Regions from separate parts of the Homo sapiens genome. Here region 2 is linked to region 1. The links are contacts of gene promoters, found by promoter capture Hi-C in human tissues and cell types (Jung and others, 2019). All regions are on one chromosome and are shown on one strand. Each heading gives the region's core, a stretch centred on a gene start or on the middle of the fragment in contact. The rest is flanking DNA. Distances are from core to core; before and after follow the strand shown. Region 1 holds the start of PI16 (peptidase inhibitor 16). Region 2 overlaps PPIL1 (peptidylprolyl isomerase like 1).

The links. Contacts are between HindIII fragments. The study calls those that stand out against the background at their distance.
Region 2: a fragment that was not itself captured here is called in contact with the fragment with the promoter of PI16 in region 1 in 8 of the 25 tissues and cell types used here (IMR-90 fibroblasts, aorta, dorsolateral prefrontal cortex and 5 more).

Annotation. Positions count from the first base shown.
Region 1 is chr6:36,953,256-36,957,907 of GRCh38, reverse strand. It overlaps PI16 (peptidase inhibitor 16), which reads right to left and starts at 3,170. Exons shown (of 7, transcript NM_153370.3): 1 at 2,977-3,170. The coding sequence starts at 3,147. The HindIII fragment of the contact is 39,732 bases long and covers 1-4,652 here.
Region 2 is chr6:36,857,372-36,862,227 of GRCh38, reverse strand. All of the region lies in intron 2 of PPIL1 (peptidylprolyl isomerase like 1), which reads left to right. Among named protein-coding and RNA genes, the nearest start is that of PPIL1, 15 kb to the left of the region's middle. RefSeq lists an enhancer at 1,898-2,399. The HindIII fragment of the contact is 5,580 bases long and covers 1-4,503 here.

The DNA.
Region 1 (4,652 bases), core at 1,921-4,420:
GGGTGTCTGAGATCACCTGCGAGGTGCCGGGCTGGACTGTAAGTGCCATCACGGTAGGGCATGGATGGATCCCCAGTGTCTGGCGCAGTGCTGGCACATAGTAGGTGCTCAACAGATACTTGTCAACTATTGATGACTGAGACAGGGCCCTTCTTAAAGCAGTCTACCCCTACAGAGCCTGGCTGTAATTTCCATTCTGACTAGATATCTGGAGCCCCACCATTAGCATCATTGCTTTGGTCTTAAGGATTCTCAGTCAGTCATCCAGAGCCCCCTGTGGAGTTTGTAAGACTCTCAGCACCCACCCACATTGGCCACATGGTCACCATCTAGAAGCAAGTCCATTCATTCATTCATTCAACAGTCCTGGGCATTGTGTCAGCCCTGGGACAACAGCAGGAACCAAGAAGCCCAAATTTCCATTGACATAAAAGTCATTTGGGCCACCACATGGTAAATGACAGATGTGCCACAAGTACTATAGAGGCACCAAAGAGGGCCATCTAGCCCAGCCAAAGGTGGAGAGGGAGACACCAAGCTAAGTGTTAAAAGATGAGGCATTAGTCAGCTGGAGGGGAGAGGCATCCTAATCAGAAGGTACACATCAGCAAAGGCATGAAGCTGGGAAACATTTTGGCTGGGAAAAGACAAGCTGTTCAGGTGACAGAAGAATAAAGGGCAAGCGGGAGAGGAGGATGGAGAGATAGGCAGGGGCCAGAACACACAGAACCTTCTCAGTCAGGAGCTGGAGCTTTAACCTGAAGCAGTAGGGAGCCATGGGAGCCACTGAAGGATTTTGAGCAGGGTCAGGCCCATGTGTTGGATTATTCATTCTGACAGCAGAGGCCAGAAGCTGGGGAACAGGTAGAGGCTATCCTAGGAGTCCTTGTGTGGAAGAATGAAAGAAACCTGAACCAGGATTGTGCTGAAAAGAGAAGGGGGTAGGGGTAAGGGTTAGATTTCAAGGACAATTGAACCTTCGGGGTGGCAAAACTGGTGCTGATTAGCTCTGGAGGCTGAGAGAGAAGGAAGAGTTCATGATAACCCCCACCTGCCTCACCCTGGATCCATTCCCTCTTTTGTGTTAATCAGACACTTACTGAGCACTTACTGTGTGCCAGGCATTCTTCTGAGTGCTTTACACATATTCACTCACTTAACCCTACAACCACTGTAGCTACAAGGGAATTATCCCACTGTTATCATCCCCATTTTACAGATGAGGAGACTGAGGCACAGAGAGTTTAATTTGGCCAAGGTCACAAAGCTAATAAGTAACAAAGCTAAGATTTGAACCCAGGCCATTTGGCTGCAGAGTCCCTGCCCTCACCACTGCTGAGGTTGAACCTGAGTCTTGTCCTGAATGTTTCCTGGCATCCCAGCCCCAGCCTCATCTCCTCCTCCTCATGTCACTCCCCATTAGGCAGCAGCATATCCCCTCAGTATCCCAACTGCCTCCCAGAATGTTGCCCCACTCCAAGGCGCACCTCTGTCTGAGAAGCAGCTCCCAGCCTGTGTGGCCCCCAGTCTCAGCCAGCAAGACTGTAGGGCATCAGGGATCTACAGGTGGGGAAACTGAAGTCCAACAATGAGTCACAGGCCTCAATCAGGGAGCTGTTGGCAGAGCTGCATCTGTGACGCCTGGTTTGTTGTCCACCTTTCCTCGATGTGCAGGCTGGCACAGCTGTGAACGGCAGTGCTGGGTGTGTGCAGAGCTCTTCCTAGATCTTTCTTACGTGTCATCCTGTCTGACGCCCAGGGCAGGGATCGCCAGCCCCATGTTTCCATCTGGAAACAGAGGCCTTTGAAGGGAAAGGGGTCCACCCAGAGTTACTTCAGCCAGATCACATTAGGCTGAGGTTAGAACTTAGGTTTGGGGCCCCAGGCTCACTGTTATGTTCCCCAAGGTGCATCTGTTCTCTCAGGCACCAGCTCCAGGGGTCCCTGAACACTGCCCAGCAACCTCCCCAGTCACCTGAGGGTGGCTGGAGGGGACAAGCTAGTTCAGCCCTCAGGGAGGGCAGGAAGTGGGTGAATTTCTCACTTTATCTCCTTTAATTCTGCATATAGACAGCCCGCCTCTCACCCTACCATAAATAGCTCTTCCTGACAGAAGTAACCAACCCTAAATCTGGCTTCTGTCTCCTGTGTGCATGTACATGTAATGTTTACTACATCTGCGTGTTTCACCAGGACATAAATAGTATTTTTACATGTTTTCAGACTTCATGTAAAGAGATCCTACTGTGTATTTTTTAGAGATTTTATTTCCTCCCCCATTCAGTATGATATCTGTGAGATTCAATCCACACTGGTATATACGTAGCTCTAATTCTGACCGCCTTTTACAGATGAGACACGGGATCGGCAAGGTTACAGGACTTGCCTCGAATCATAGGTCTTGTAGGTGACCGAGACAGAATTTGGACTGTGTGATCCAGAGCCCTCTCTGCTTCTGGATCCTGCTGTCACCCACCTCCTTAGCACCTGCCTCCTACTCCACGTGCCCACGCCCATCCTGCTGCCCTGCTTCCTCTTGTCCTCTCCTTGGCAGGCATGTGAAAGACCGTTTTCACAAAGGTGTTAAGAACTTCCCGGGTTCCCCCACTGAGGGCACATGCATTTGAGGAAGTGCTGGGGAAAGCTCATTGGAGTGGGAAGCCAGGGCTTTGGGTCTGGCTCTACCAGCTGTGTGACCCCAACAAATCCCTCTGAGCCTCACTTTCCTTATCTGTATTATGAGGCTGCTTATAGGGGCCTGTGAATTTTATTAGGCGGGTGCAAAAGTAATTGTGGTTTTTGCCATTTAAAGTAATGTAATACCATGTCAGGGACTCGGGGACTCTGTCACTGACCAGAAAAAGGAGAGGAATTCTGAAATAGCTTCAGCATGAGGAGCAGGGTAAGAGAGCCTGGTGACAGACCCTGGCCAGCACCCCTTCCATCCCAGCCAGCAAGGGCCGTGGCCACACTTACCATGTGCAGCATGTCTGAGGCCGTCGGGGATACCTGGGCCCGGTAGAGGTTGTGCAGCTCCACCATCAAACGTTTCTCCTCATCTGTGAGGGCTCCAACGGGGCCTGTGGTGGCCACCAGCAGTAGCAGTAGCGGCAGCAGAAGCATCAGGAAACTGCAGGAGCCGTGCATGGTGGCCAGCCGTCTCTCCTTCTCCCGTCCAGGGGTCTGGCAGCTGGATTTAAAGTCCTTCCCACACAAGCACCACCCTGGCTGGGGTGGGGCAGTGGGGGCCGTGTTTGAGGCCCAGCCCGACTCACACAATGTCTCAGGGAGGGCTGGGCGCTTTGGGTCCCGACCAGCATCAAGTGCACTCCCCTTGGAGTCCTTGGCAAAAACCTCCTTTCTCTTGGTAACGGGGGCTCAGGCCAAAAGCTGTGTGAGTTCCTAAGTTGTGGACAGATCCTTCAGGGGCAAAATCACAGTAACCTCTGCAGAGCTGTGACTGGTTGCACCCAGGTCACACCCACTGTGTGTTGAAGATAGATAAGAGAAAGGAAACCACAGACCCTACCCACAGAGGAGTGGGCAAGATGAGGAAGCTATAGGCTTTTGAAAGGACAGAGGAAGACCAGATGTATTTGATAAAAGGCTGAGCCAACCTAAATCAGAATCCTGGTTCTGCCCCTTGCTATCTGTGTTTTGGCAGCTTTCTCAAGTGAATCAGTGACAATAATAGTACCTATCTCACAGGACTAGAGGGAAGATTCAATGACATATAATGTATGTAAAGCACCTAGTATGGTGTCTGGCACATAGTAGGCCCTCAGTAACAGTAGACAACCCACTCATGTGGCCTGGGCCTTAGCAGGCTACCAGCCCCCTGTGGAGGCAACATTCTTGCCTGCGGGGGGAGAGGCCAAGGTCTTCCCCACTCTAGCTGTATTCAGGAATAAGGCCTTTCACTATGGCAAAATTTTGGCTTCCAGGTATCCTCTCTGAATGCATGTGCTTGACATGCTCATTTGGAAGTGGGATGCTGGGACCCCTGTGCTCTAACTATGTAGAAATATAATGTGTCTGTTTCTTAAATCAAGAGAGAGCAGAAAAGCAGAAGGTTGAATGAGCTGATGCACCAGGAGCTCTGAGGGGAAGGTATTGGAAGGGAAATAGCCTTAGCAGTCAGGTGCTGGCATTATAATGACCTTGACCTTGCAGGGGCCATGACCGGTTCATGAAGCAGGAAGCTGGAACCAGTACTCTTGAGGACAGCTGGGATCCTTGAAGCCTGCTTCTTCAATGAATAGGGACCTAGAAAAAGTCTACCCACAGGCTTTGGAAGATGACAAGAAAACCTGTCCCTGCCTGAGTCTCCAAGTAAAAATAAAAACAAAACCAAGATGGATTACACACACATACACACACACACACACTTATTAGAATTAATAAAGTCAGCAAAGTTGCAGGATACAAAATTAACACATAGAAATTAGTTGTTTCTATACACTAATAATGAAAAATCCAAAAAGGAAATTAAGAAAACAATTTCATTTATAAAAGCAATGAAAAAGAATAAAAAGAATAAAATTCTTACCAATAAACTTTTTTTTTTTTTTTGAGATGGAGTCTCGCTCTGTCACCCAGGCTGGAGTGCAGTGGCATGATCTTGGCTCACTGCAACCTCTGCCTCCTGGGTT
Region 2 (4,856 bases), core at 464-2,963, 94 kb after region 1:
GCCCATCTGTGGGGCTGGATATTAATCTATTGTCCCATCAACTGTGGGGTGGGAGGGGCGGGGACAAGTAGCACCAAGTGTGGTCATCTTGGTGTAAGACACTGCATGTCCCATGCCTTAGACATCATTTTGACAGGTTTCCACAGTGACTAAGAGGAGGAGGAAGGGACATCACAGGAGTCACAGGGATGAGAAAAGGGTTTTTTGTGTTTTGTTTTTAAGAAACAACACAGGCCAGGCACAGTGGCTCACACCTGTAATCCCAGCACTTTGGGAAGCCGAGGTAGGCAGATCACCTGAGGTCAGGAGTTTGAGGCCAGCCTGACCGACATGGAGAAATCCCGTCTCTACTAAAAATACAAAATTAGCCAGGCATGGTGGCGCATGCCTGTAATCCCAGCTACTCGGGAGGCTGAGGCAGGAGAATTGCTTAAACCTGGGAGGCGGAGGTTGCGGTGAGCCAAGATGGCACCATTGCACTCCAGCCTGGGCCACAAGAGCGAAACTCTGTCTCAGAAAAAAAAAAGGAATTAAAAAAAAAAAAAAACACAGATCATAAAGAAGAAGGTTAAGAAATGTTAACTGCAAAGGTTCTGTTCATTGGAAGATCCCATTACAAGAGTGAAAAAAGTTAACTGGGAGAAGGTATTTGCAAAACATTCACTGACAGAGGATTAGTATCTATAGTATATAGTTGAGCCTTTACCAACATGGGTTTGAACCATGGAGGTCCATACAGTTTTCTCAGAGCCCACAGCGGGACTTGAGCGAGCAGGGATTTTGGTGTCACAGGGATCCTGGAACCAATCCCCTGAGTATACCAAGGGATGACTGTATGTATCAATTCCAAAATGTCATACCACTGAGTGGCCGTTCACAGAGGGGACAAGCTAAATAAGCCAGTAAACATGAAATTATGCCAAACTTCAGAGAAATGCAGTTTAAAACACCACAAGAGGTCTCACACTTCTCAGACTGACAGAAGGACCTAGAGCAGTAAGAGTGAGAGTGCTGCGGGGTGGGGTGCATGTTGGTTCATCCTTTTCAATAAGGCACTTAGAAAAATCTAGCAATGATGAAATACTCAAACTATGACCCTGTGTATCCCCTGTGAGGTATTGGCCCCCGAGAGCTCTTGCACTTGGATTTCGGAGACAGTATAAGAATAGTTTTTATAGCATGGTCGATAATAACCAAAACATTGGAAAGATCCTCAGTATCAACACCAGAAAAGATAAGACAGAGCATTATGGTCATACAGTGAGGTGAACACTACAGAGACCTGCCTGGAACAAAGTAGATGAGTCTCTCAAACAGTGTTGAGAATATATAAAGTGTAATACCACTTATGTAAGCTTAAAAACATGCAAAACAACAATACTTTTTTTTTTTAGGGGTACATAGATGTGTAGTAAAAAAGCTTAAAAACATGCAAAACAGCAATACTTTTTTTTTTTTTTTTTTAGGGATACATATATGTGTAGTAAAAAAGAAAATGCATGGAAATGCCAAATTCTTGTCAGAATAGTGGTTACCTGAGAGGAAAATGTGATTCTTTGAATCAGCTGTTAGCTCTCAGGAGAATGAGTGGTGGGGAGAGATGCAGTGGGGTGTATGCATGGGGTCTTAGCTGGATTTGCAATAGTTTATTTCTTGGGGGCGGAGGTGGTCATAGATATTGGTCATATTATTCTTTGTATGTTTGCGTGTCTGAAATAAATACATTGAATAAATGATCCCAAGAGAGGACAGAGGACAGAAGAGGAAAAGAATCTCTTTTTTTTTGGAGACAGACAGGAGTGCAATGGCGCAATCACAGCTCACTCTAGCCTCGACCTACTGGGCTTGAGTGATCCTCTCACCTCAGCCACCTGAGTAGCTGTAGCTGGGACTGCAGGCACGCACAACCACGCCTGGCTAATTTTTGTAGAGACGAGTTTCACCATGTTGCTTAGGCTGGTCTCAACTCCTGGGCTTAAGAGATCCGCCCCCTTCAGCCTCCCAAAGTGTTGGGATTATAGGTGTGAGCCACTTGTACCTGGCCAGAAAAGAATCTTGAAGGTTCTTTTCTAACCTGTAATCAAAGGTTAGAAAACAGGTCTTGGCCGGGTGTGGTGGCTCACACCTGTAATCCCAGCACTTTGGGAGGCCGAGCCTGGCAGATCATGAGGTCAAGATTGAGACCATCCTGGGCAACATGGTGAAACCCCATCTCTACTAAAAATACAAAAATTAGCTGGGCATGGTGGCGGGCGCCTGTAGTCCCAGCTACTCAGGAGGCTGAGGCAGGAAAATCACTTGAACCCGGGAGGCAGAAGTTGCAGTGAGCCGAGATCGCACCACTGCACTCCAGCCTGGTGATAGAGTGAGATTCTGTCTCAAAACACACACACACACACACACACACACACACACAATAGAAAACAGGTCTGCCTATCTTCATTGTGTCTGTGCTAGACCAGGCACAGAACCTGCAAAGCTTCCAAATTGTTGGCTTTCTAACTGATAATTGACATCTGAGTAGCATGCTCTGCACTGGAGAACTCTTTAATCATTCTCTGTCCCTCTGCCACCTCTCACTTATTCCACGTGCCCAGAGGAATGTTTGAATTAGAATGATTTGTCTTTCTGAAATTTTGCCGCAAACCCTACTGAGTTGAATTGGGTTATGAAAAGATAACATATTATGAGTAAGATATTATGAAAACTCTGCCTATTGAGTAAAGGTGATCTCCATGCTCTTTCCTCCTGTATCCTCTGATTCCCACTTCATCTGTGACTTTTTTTTTTTTTTTTTTTTTTTGAGACAGGGTCTCACTCTGTTGCCTGGGCTGCAGTGCAGTGGTGCGATCTCAGCTCACTGCAACCTCTGCCTCCCAGGTTCAAGCGATTCTCCTGCCTCAGCCTCCCAAGTAGCTGGGATTACAGGCACGTGCCACCACGCCTGGCTAATTTTTGTATTTTTATTAGTGATGGGGTTTCACCATGTTGGTCAGGCTGGTCTCAAACTCCTGACCTCATGATCTGCCTGCCTCGGCCTCCCAAAGTGCTGGAATTACAGGTGTGAGCCACCATGCCCAGCCCATCTGTGACTCTTGACTGACCTATTCCTTAATGCACTTCTTGTTTGTGGTGATGTTTGTGTGATAGTTTACCATTCCTAGAGGGCAGGGTCCTGGGGGGTTTGTTCTGGTAGCCCTCAGGTTGCAGGGATCACACTTTGAAGCTCAGGCCACAGACTGACAGCGTACTACTGAACTGAATCCTTAGCTTGCTCACTCAAGTCCTGCACGCAGAGCCTGGCCTCTGTGGCGTCTGGCCCCACAGCCCTCTCCCTAGTCTCTGGTAACCCCAGCCAGGAACCTTGACTCTCTAGTGGTTGCCAAAGGACCAAGCAAAGGGGAGGATTGAGTCAGAGGGAACATATTGGTTATATAATTGCTGTTTGGAAGTATACTGACAGGTTGGAATTTTTGGAATGAGTTTTACACAGTTTAGTGTGGTTCAGTATTTTTCCAGAAGCATAGGTAGCCTGGGCCAAGTGGGAGGTTTCCCCTAGTCTGTTAGGATTCACCCCCATCCCTCTTTGCATGAGAACAGTGTTTTCTTCCGGAAAAGAAACGGGGGCTGTGACAGGCTCCCTGTGGTGAAGCCGACTAAAAGGTAAAGCAAAGGATTTTTGCCATGGAAACACCTTAGCCATGCCCAGGGGCCTTGGGGGTGGACTTGGTGCTACTTTTATAGCAGGCAGTAGAGGAAGTGAGCTGCCAGCACTGGGCTGCAGGGCAAGCAGAGTACCAATCCAGTGTTTACTTTGTTCTAGGCTGTTTTGTCGTGACCGTTCAACTTGGAGAAACCAATGTAGTTCAGTAAGGCATATGATTGACTACATAATTGATTAGTATTGGTTAGGAAAGTTGCCTCCTGTTTTGACATGTTTTCCTGTGAGAAAACCATGTTTAACTTACATCTTTTTTTTTTTTTTTTTTTTTTTTTGAGACAGTCTTGCTCTGTCGCCCAGGCTGGAGTGCAATGGCATGATCTCGGCTCACTGCAACCTCCACCTACTGGGTTCAAGCAATTCTCCTGCCTCAGCCTCCCAAGTAGCTGGGACTACAGGTGTGTGCCACCATGCCTGGCTAATTTTTTTTTTGTATTTTTAGTAGAGATGGGGGTTTCACTATGTTGGCCAGGCTGGTCTCGAACTCATGACCTCGTGATCCACCTGCCTTGGCCTTCCAACGTGCTGGGATTATAGGCATGAGCCACCGCGCCTGGTCTAACTTACATCCTTTTGCTCTTAGAGCAAAACCTGCCTGAGCTTAGGGTATCCAGCCCAGCACCCTGCTCTTGTGGGCATAATATAAATAACATTTGGTGGTGATGCTGCTAGCAAATAATTCCCAATCCCATGTTTCTTCATTTTCCCTTTATTCATTTATTTAGAGTCAAGGTTTTGCCTCTTGCCTAGACTGGAGTATACTGACATGATCATAGCTCACCGTAAACTCAAACTCCTGGGCTCAAAGCAGTCCTCCTGCCTCAGCCTCCTAAGGAGCTGGGACTACAGGCATGTGCTACCACATCTGGCTGAATTTTAAAATTTTTTTGTGAGCCAGGTGCAGTGGTTCACGCCTATAATCCCAGCACTTGGGAAGCCAAGGAGGGAGGATTGCTTGACGCCAGGAGTTTGAGACCAGCCTGGGCAACGTAGCAAGACCCCATCTCTAAAAAAAAAAAATTTATGGAGTCAGGGTCTCGCTCTGTGGCCCAGCTCAAACTCCTGGCCTCCAGCAGTCCTCCTGCCTCAGCTTCCCAAAGTGCTGAGATTTTAGATGTGAGCCACCACACCTGGC